Regions from separate parts of the Homo sapiens genome. Here region 1 is linked to region 2. Evidence: promoter capture Hi-C in human tissues and cell types (Jung and others, 2019). All regions are on one chromosome and are shown on one strand. Each heading gives the region's core, a stretch centred on a gene start or on the middle of the fragment in contact. The rest is flanking DNA. Distances are from core to core; before and after follow the strand shown. Region 1 overlaps STAG1 (STAG1 cohesin complex component). Region 2 holds the start of KY (kyphoscoliosis peptidase).

Region 1 (4,340 bases), core at 118-2,617, 2.0 Mb before region 2:
GATTTTTTATGACATATGCAGAGATAAGTATTTTGGTATCTATTAGTTTTGAACTGTTTTGGAGTAAGTTGCAGACATGATGTTACTTTTTTTTTAAATTCAGTATTGTTTTGTAGAATATCTCTTCGCAGCACTTTATTTCTAATAGTTTAGTGTGTATTTCTTTGCAGTCAAGGACATTTTTTCTTACATAACCACAGTACAGTTATGAAAATATGAAAATAATATTGATATAAGAATGATATCTATACATCTCATTTAGATTTTGCCAGTTGTCATAATCTAATCCCTTAAAGAAAAGAAAAACTATTCTTTTCCTGAATCAGGGTCTAGTCCAGGATTTTATGTTGCTTGTAGTTGTCATGTAAATCAGCACCTCTCTAACCTTAACCCCTCTTTAGTCTCTCGTGTTTTATTATGGATTTTTTTCTCTTAGTGAGAACCAGCACTTCTATATTCTCAACATTATTTAACTTTCATATTTGCATAGGCTGAGTAGGAGAGGTAAATAATGTTGTATATAAAGTTTCAGTGCTGCAAAAGAAATAGCACTTGAATATAAAATGTTCTTTTAATTCTCAGCAAGGCAAGGTACTTCTATAGAAGGGTGCGCCCTTACAGATGGAACAATGGTGAGTGCACACTTGGACAAGGGAGGGGAAGGGGTTCTTATCCCTGACGCATGTGGCGCCTGCTGCTGTGTCATTCCCTTATTGGCTAGGGTTAGACCACCCAGGCTAAACTAATTCCGATTGGCTAATTTAAAGAGAGTGACGGGGTGAGTGGTTTGGTGGGAAAAATGGTTATGACAGAGCAGGTGATCGGAATGAGTCAGGGTGGAGCAGGTGATTGGAATGAGTCAGGGTGGAGCAGGTAATTGGAAAAGGTTGCTTTATGAGGAAGTTAAGTTTAAAAGTAGAAGGCAAAGAATTGAACATACTTTTCTTTGAAAAGAAATTTAGAACTCATATCTAACAATAAAAAGATACAGTTTTTATTTTTAAATGTCTATTCATACATAGAAGATGGAGAATGCACAACAAAAGATTAATGAGTACCAGAAGGGTAAGTTAACAGGTCACTTATAAAAATTGGATCTTTAAAATTATTTGGTAGTTTAATGTAGACTGTTGGGAATTTCATAATATTCAAATTCCAAAGTTTTTTTTTCTTTTAAATACCAAAATTTTTATTTGCCCACCCTCTTGGTTTAGCATTATAAATCAAATCAATCTCTTTTTGACCCAGCGTTGTGATAGGAACCACCATGTTACAATGTGGTGGCAGATGTCTGCTAGATTTTTTCTGGCTCCTCTCAACCTCTGACTGTCACTTCTTTTGTCCTTTCTTGGTTGTCCTTTAACAATCTGTTATAACTCCTGTAAAATAGAGAGTAAAAGTACCAACCCTGTTGTTACCAGGTTTTATGAGGACTAAGCTAGGACTAAGTCAATCTTTCAGGAACATTCAGACTCCAGTGGTTCCTCCTTGATCTTCAGTATAGCTCCTTATCTGTAATGGGCTGAAGAACCATTGAACTGATAAACCAGGCACATGGGTATAAGTCCATAGGCCAGGTGAAGGCCTGGATATAAAATATATGGACTTTGTGATGACCACTACCAACATCCAGCCTAAAGAAGGACTGACTTAGCATTTCCAACACCAATGATCTCATGGTTCCCTGTAGATGTCTCCCTTGTACCTCCATTAAGACCAGAGCTTGAGGAAGGGCCTCTCAATTTCCCCTGCTACACTTGGAATAGTATGAGGGACTCAGCAGAGGCTGGAAACTGAATGACCAGGCCCAGGGAGTTAATGTGGGACACTGACAAACCAATTGCAGAGTTGGTGCCATGTTGAGCATTTATGTTAAAAATTCTTAACTATTCTAAACCATGCTGACATGAACTGTTTTGCAAGTAAGTTTTGCTGTATAGCCATTGTTTTTTTTAATCCTAAATTTCTAGAAGTGAAGTTTGTTAGTATATGCTGTTTGTTTTGAAAGCTTTTGACATATATTATTGCCTTTCACACAGCAAAATATATGGGTATATGCTATGTTACTGCTTATAATGGTTAAGTCTTTTCTAATTTTTAAGTGGTGAAGTTTAAATCAGTACTTTCTATATTGTTCATTATTTGTGAATAAAGGTGGTATGATCACAGCTCACCACAGATTCGATTTCCCAGGTTCAAGTGATTCTCCCACCTCAGCCTTTGGAGTGGGACTACAGTCATGCATCACCACACCGGCTAAGTTTTTGTAGAGGCAAGGTTTCGTCATGTTGCCCAGGCTGGTCTCAAACTCCTCGGCTCAAGCAGTCTGCCCAGTAGGACTCCTAAAGTGCTGGATTACAGGCATGAGGCACTGGGCCCAGCCTATTTATAATTTTCTGTACTACTTTTTCTATTTTTATTTTTCTAAGAAACAAAGATCTCTATAAAAAATTTTTTTGGAGCTTAAATGTGCACTCTTTTGTGATCACTTTAGGAAGTATATTAGTTGGACTTCTTTTTAAGCTGTCTTTGTTGTTTTCTTAATTTTTCATTTAGAATTTTCTTCTACTGACTAGACTAGTTTTTAGTTCTGACTTCCTTAATTATGTTAAAGACTACCACAGTTCCAAGAACACAGAATTAAGACCTGAGTCATTGTTACATTTCCTCATCTCCAAGTCTCTTGTCCTGTCTCCTTTATCTATTGAAATTTGAGGTCTGATGACTTTTTTTTTTTTTTTGAGACGGAGTCTTGCTCTGTCGCCCAGGCTGGAGTGCAGTGGCGCGATCTCGGCTCACTGCAAGTTCCGCCTCCCAGGTTCATGCCATTCTCCTGCCTCAGCCTCCCGAGTAGCTGGGACGACAGGTGCCCACCACCATGCCTGGCTACTTTTTTTGTATTTTTAGTAGAGACGGGGTTTCACCGTGTTAACCAGGATGGTCTTGATCTCCTGACCTCGTGATCCACCCGCCTTGGCCTCCCAAAGTGCTGGGATTACAGGTGCGAGCCACTGCGCCCAGCGTCTGATGACTTTTACTTTATAAGCTCACTGTGTCTTCCACATCTGTCCTTTATTTTACATTTCCCAAGTTTGTATCTTTAGGGCTTACTTTATTGGCAGCTGTACTGTTAGCTTCCTACCTTTGGTCTTTGTCTTTTTCTATTTCATCCTTTTTAATAGTGCCGGGTGGGAATATGTTTTTTCTTTTTTTTCATTTTCTTTTTTTTTTTGATTTGGAGTCTTGCTCTATTGCCCAGGCTGGAGTGCAGTGGCACGACCTTGGCTCACTGCAAGCTCCGCCTCCCAGGTTCACACCATTCCCCTGCCTCAGCCTCCCAAGTAGCTGGGACTACAGGTGCCCACCATCACGCCCGGATAATTTTTTGTATTTTTAGTAGAGATGGGGTTTCACCGTGTTAGCCAGGATGGTCTCAATCTCCTGACCTCGTGATCTGCCTGCCTCGGCCTCCCAAAGTGCTGGGATTACAGGCGTGAGCCACCGACCGGCCACGAATATGTTTTTTCTTATTCAAAAAGCAGGCAGTGCCCCCACTCCTTTTTTTTTTTTTTTTTTTTTTTTTTTGGACAAAGTCTTGTTGTCACCCAGGCTGGAGTGCAGTGACACGATCTCAGCTCACAGGCAATGCCATTTTATGAAAAAGTGTGGGGTATCTTCAACTAACCTAATATTACACCTAATATTTTATTGTATTTCCCTGTTCACAACTTTTTAGTCAGGTATCTATCTGTCTCTTGTTTTTTCATGTATGGCTTTTGCTTTCCCACATTCACACCATTGCTCATTGTGTTTTTTCGTTCTGGAACCCTTGTTTTCTAAATTCTACATATGCTAATCTTACTAATACTAATTCTTAACTAATTTTATGAGTTCATGAAGTCCCAACTTGCAGCATAATTTTTTTGTGAAACTTTTCCTGCTTCTCGGTACTAAAAATAATGTTTCTCTTAGAAGGTTTTTAGCACTTATCATAAACCAAAATTCCATTAAAAGTATCTTTGTATACTATAGTTTATTATTTTATATTGCACGTATTTATCTCTTTATCTTTTAATTGTGTATGTATAAAATTTTTGCATTATGCAGTCCCCAAAAAAGTTAATATATATTATTTGTGATACGGTGTGGATTATTTCACATTCACAGCTCATTATGCCAGATAAGGCACAAAGGTTAAAGAATGTTTTTGTATCTTTGTTTCTTAAAACTTCTAGGAAAGTCATTGCACATTCATACTGCAACTTAACCTATTCTAGAGCTTTGGAATAGAGTATTTGGGATAAGTTATTTTCCTACACAGCAGGGCTAATTTGTGTATT
Region 2 (4,084 bases), core at 683-3,182:
ATGCAAGTGTAAGGAAAGGGGACTTCAGCTCCCCCCACCATCACCAACACTCAGACCCATCCGGCAACCAAGGGTGCTGTACACAGGCTTCTAGTTGATTTCAGCACTTCAGACAACCTGACACTTGAAGGAGTTAGACAACACTGACTGGCCCAGGGTAGTTGGGGGGACTCTGGGACCTGAGATCTGCCTCAGCAATCTCCAACACCCCAAGAGCTTTGCATAATGCATAGTTCTTACTTCCCCAGCCACATAGAGAGTAAGTGTTAGCCAGCCTCCCAGGTGTGCGCGCGCGCGTGTGTGTGTGTGTGTGTGTACCTGCACACATACAGACAGGACAAGACTCACTTTAGCAGAAGGAAACCTGCCTTGGAAGTCAGCCATCTCCACTTGCCTGTCTATGGCCTCAGCTCTCTAGGGACTCCAGTTCAACATTACTGGAAGCCAACAACCTCTCCTTCCATCAGATGCCCAGTGGGTGAGTCAGGGGGTGGGGTGGTGGGGGGGGGCGCTGGTAATGCAATAAGACAACAGCCTTTACACGGAACCAAACTCTGAGCCACTGTTATTGGAGGAAGACCTTCAGAATCTCAGAGTGTGGCTGTGACATCTCTCCTGCTTCTCTGCTCCATCAGTCACTTGTCACTCCATCTTTCCCTTTCCTCACCCTTAAAATGAAGTAAGAATGACAGCTACCATATGAAGACCACTTTCTATACACCAGGCGCCTTACATTCATGCCATTCTCACAACAGCCATGTGAGAAATTTTTATCAACCCAGTGATAAGGGTGAGAAGGTGGAGGGAAAATGGCTGGTCCAAGGTCACACAGCCAGGAAGTGATGGAGCTGGTACTGGAATGCAGTCTGTGTGACACAGGCTGCTCCAAGGAGGATCTGGGAACTCTCAGGACCATGCTACAAGGTGGGGTCCATACACTCCAATGCGGGGAGGGCTCCCAGAGCAAAGGCCTCCATGTGGGGGTGCATTTATTAACAGTAGAAACTCGAATTAGGGGAACGCCCCCAGCAGGGTGGGCCCGTAGTGCCCAGGGGTACCAGGCAGAAGCCTATGTAAACACTCCTGAGACCTACAGCCAAACCCCTGCTGCTGTTGGCTGGGCAGGCCAGGCCGGGCTAAAAATAGAAGGCTTCTCAGGTCCAGCTCCCTGTGCCCCAGCCTCCTCCTCTCCCCCTCCCTCCTTCCCCACAGGGCAGGAGCCAGGCTTCTAGAACGAACCGAGACTTTAAGACTTTCGTTTCAGATCAAAGAGGATCGTTAGCTTGATACTCAATGGGCATGTTCCAAGTTCTACAGGGGCCGTAACTGGGGGGAGCTCCTGACTCCAACACCCCACCCAACTCCCTCCTAGGGAGAGAGAGCTGTCAACCTCCAAAACCAACCCAGGGAAGGAGTGAGGTCGAGGCCAAAACTTGGACAATCTCTGCACATCTTGCAATTCAATCTGGAGCCCCTTTGCTGTCTTTCCTTTTCCTGAATCTACTCTCAATGTTGACAGCACTGTGCGATTTCTGTATTTGCCAGGGGCTTCTCGTGGGAGGTCGGCTCCAGCCCTCTCGAGAACCCTCCGGAGACCGTGGGGATGAGGCAGCGCTCAGCCAGAGAAGCCCTGGAGCCCAGGACCAGCGCTTCAAGTGCACCGGGCGGGAGGCAGGGGCGCAGGGAGGGAGGCTCTGGACCGGCCGCCCCTGCTGACTATGGCCCCGGTGCAGGTCAAGGCTTGGGCCCGGGGATTTCCTTTCAAAGGTGACTTAGAGCCGCTTCATTAGGGTAGCGCCCTCCCAGGCGGGCCCTAATGGCGTGTTTGGCAGAGTCAGCGAAAAGCAGCGCCCTGCGGCTCCAGCGGCGGGGGAGCGCCCTCTTCCGCGCCCTCGCCCTCTCCCGTGTGGGGCAGCTGCGCGCACGGGGCCATTTGCAGCGCAAGCAGCCTAGCGTGCGGCCGCGGCGCCCAGGTCGGAAAGGAGGCGGCATCATGGAGCTGAAGAAGGACATCAACGCTGTATCTATCGACATGCTGCTGATCGTGCACTCGGAGAAGCGGCGCGCCGCACAGGGTACGCTCTCAGACCAGCAGGCGAACCCGAGCTCGCTGCTGCAGCGCGGAGGAGGTAACGCGCGCCCGACCCGGGTCCCCGGGTCCCCCGGCACCTTGGCCTCCTTGCCACAAGGGCCTGCCCGCCGGGGGGCGCCCATTGCTCCCCCGAACGAGGTCAGCGAACCCGACCCTCTCCCCCATGGCTGCCGTCGCTTCCCCGCAGTGGCACCGGCGTCCCGTGGCAACGCGCAGTCCCGTGGCAACGCGCAGCCCCGTGATTGCCCCAGTTTCACTCCCTGTGCAGGCCTGTGGGTGCTTCCGTCACCCCTGGGAGTCTTTTTCCTCCCAGCCACTCCCTAACGGGTGTAGAGCAAGATTGGAAGATACCCTGGAGGAAGGCGGCCAGAGCCTCAGGGCTGACTCATGGGTAGCAGAGGCCTGCTCCCCCCCACAGCACACTGCAGGGCACAGGGGACGCTGGGAAACCTTTGGGCTGAGTCAGACTTTTAGATGGGGAGCTCCCTGTGTGGCCTTGCACAATTTACAGCCTCAGTTTCTCCTTTCTTGAGACTTTCTCCCAGCCTCCTATAGATGGAAGGCATGAAAGGCGTAAAAGGAACGCAGGTTTGGATAGGGTAAGATTTGAAACCTGCTGTCTCCACTTGAACTTATCCATCAATTTTACTTGTCCTACACACTTTCTGGGTAAATTTGTAAGTTGTAGATTGGTAAAATAAAGTGACTGTTTATAGAGTGATTGTGGAAAGCAGGATCCGGGCCTCTCTGTTCTCCAGACGACAGAACACAATGTGAATGGAGTACAGAGGGATGATAATGGAGGTTAAATAAGCCCCTGAAAAGCCAGAGAACCTCAGGGTCCTGGATGGCAAGCTGTCTCCGAGGCTGGTGTGAGGATGCACTAGGCGGACTGCGGGCCAGTTCTTTAGGAGTTAGGCCTGACAGCCCATGCAGGAGAATGACTTCTGCCTCTCTCCTCCCCTCCAGCTCTGGAGCTCCTTGGAATTCCTGCTGCTGCTCTGCCCTTGGTTCTTCTGTCCCCAGAGCCTCTGTGCTCATTGAACATCCACCTTCCACCTGCCTTGCTTAAGTAATGCTGCTGTGGATGGCCTTGCCACTACCAGCCACATAGGCTGGAGCTGCCTCCAGAGCCCTGGGAACCTCTTGGGAAGGCAGGCAGGGGAAAGAAACAGAATCTAGAGGGCTGAGTATGTTGACAGGCGCTCTAGTCTCAGGGCTGATTCCTGACTGAAGCAGGAGTTGTTTGGATTCGTTGGCTCTTTAGTTATCAGACCTACTCTTGGGAGAAGGGGAAATGGCCTGCCCAGGGTATTTGTAGTTAGAAAGTCAACAGAGGGCATCAACTTCTTGATAGAAATGAGACTGCTCTGAATACATGTACCACAGTCCAGAATGCCTTCTCCAGTGTGTGGCGAGGCCTAGTTCCAGGTCAGCCCACGAGTCCCCTACTCCCAATCCTCTCTGATCACATCACTTCTAAAGGCTCTGACACTAGAAAGGGCAAAGAATGCAGAGAAGCCCAGGAAACACCAGGCATCAGGACTGCCCTGAGAGGTGCCCAACACCTAGCACAAACTCGCCATGGCTCCAGACTCATGTATGCACACTAGTGACTATGACAGAGAAAAAAAGACCCCTAATGGCTGGGCCCTTTCTGCTGAACTTTTTCTCCAAATATTTTTCTGATGGCCGTTTCTCACCGATGCTATGAATGACAGTGTAGAGATCTGTGTCACTTATTCACAACCAGAGCAGAGAAGAGGAAAAGTGCATGGCTTTTGATGCCTGGTGGGCAGAGATGATATTCAGGAGACCCCAGGCAAAGCCAGCCTGCAGACCCTTTCCTCGAAAAACAGCCTAAGGGAGGAAAATGCCCAATAAGACCAGCTTGTTCCAAAGCCTCCCATGGGTGCAAGATATAAAACAAACTCTTGCTCACTTCCAGGTATCTCCTCCTTTCTCCTCCACACTCCAGATCCTCCACTGGAG

The links. The method cuts DNA at HindIII sites, captures the fragments that hold promoters and counts their contacts. A contact is called where the count stands out against the background at its distance.
Region 1: a fragment that was not itself captured here is called in contact with the fragment with the promoter of KY in region 2 in 1 of the 25 tissues and cell types used here (dorsolateral prefrontal cortex).

What each region holds. Positions count from the first base shown.
Region 1 is chr3:136,614,670-136,619,009 of GRCh38, reverse strand. All of the region lies in intron 3 of STAG1 (STAG1 cohesin complex component), which reads left to right. Among named protein-coding and RNA genes, the nearest start is that of STAG1, 140 kb to the left of the region's middle. The HindIII fragment of the contact is 6,695 bases long and covers 1-4,340 here.
Region 2 is chr3:134,648,870-134,652,953 of GRCh38, reverse strand. KY (kyphoscoliosis peptidase) reads left to right here and starts at 1,932. Exons shown (of 11, transcript NM_178554.6): 1 at 1,932-2,129. The coding sequence starts at 1,994. It also overlaps a transcript of CEP63 not described here. The HindIII fragment of the contact is 13,352 bases long and covers 1-4,084 here.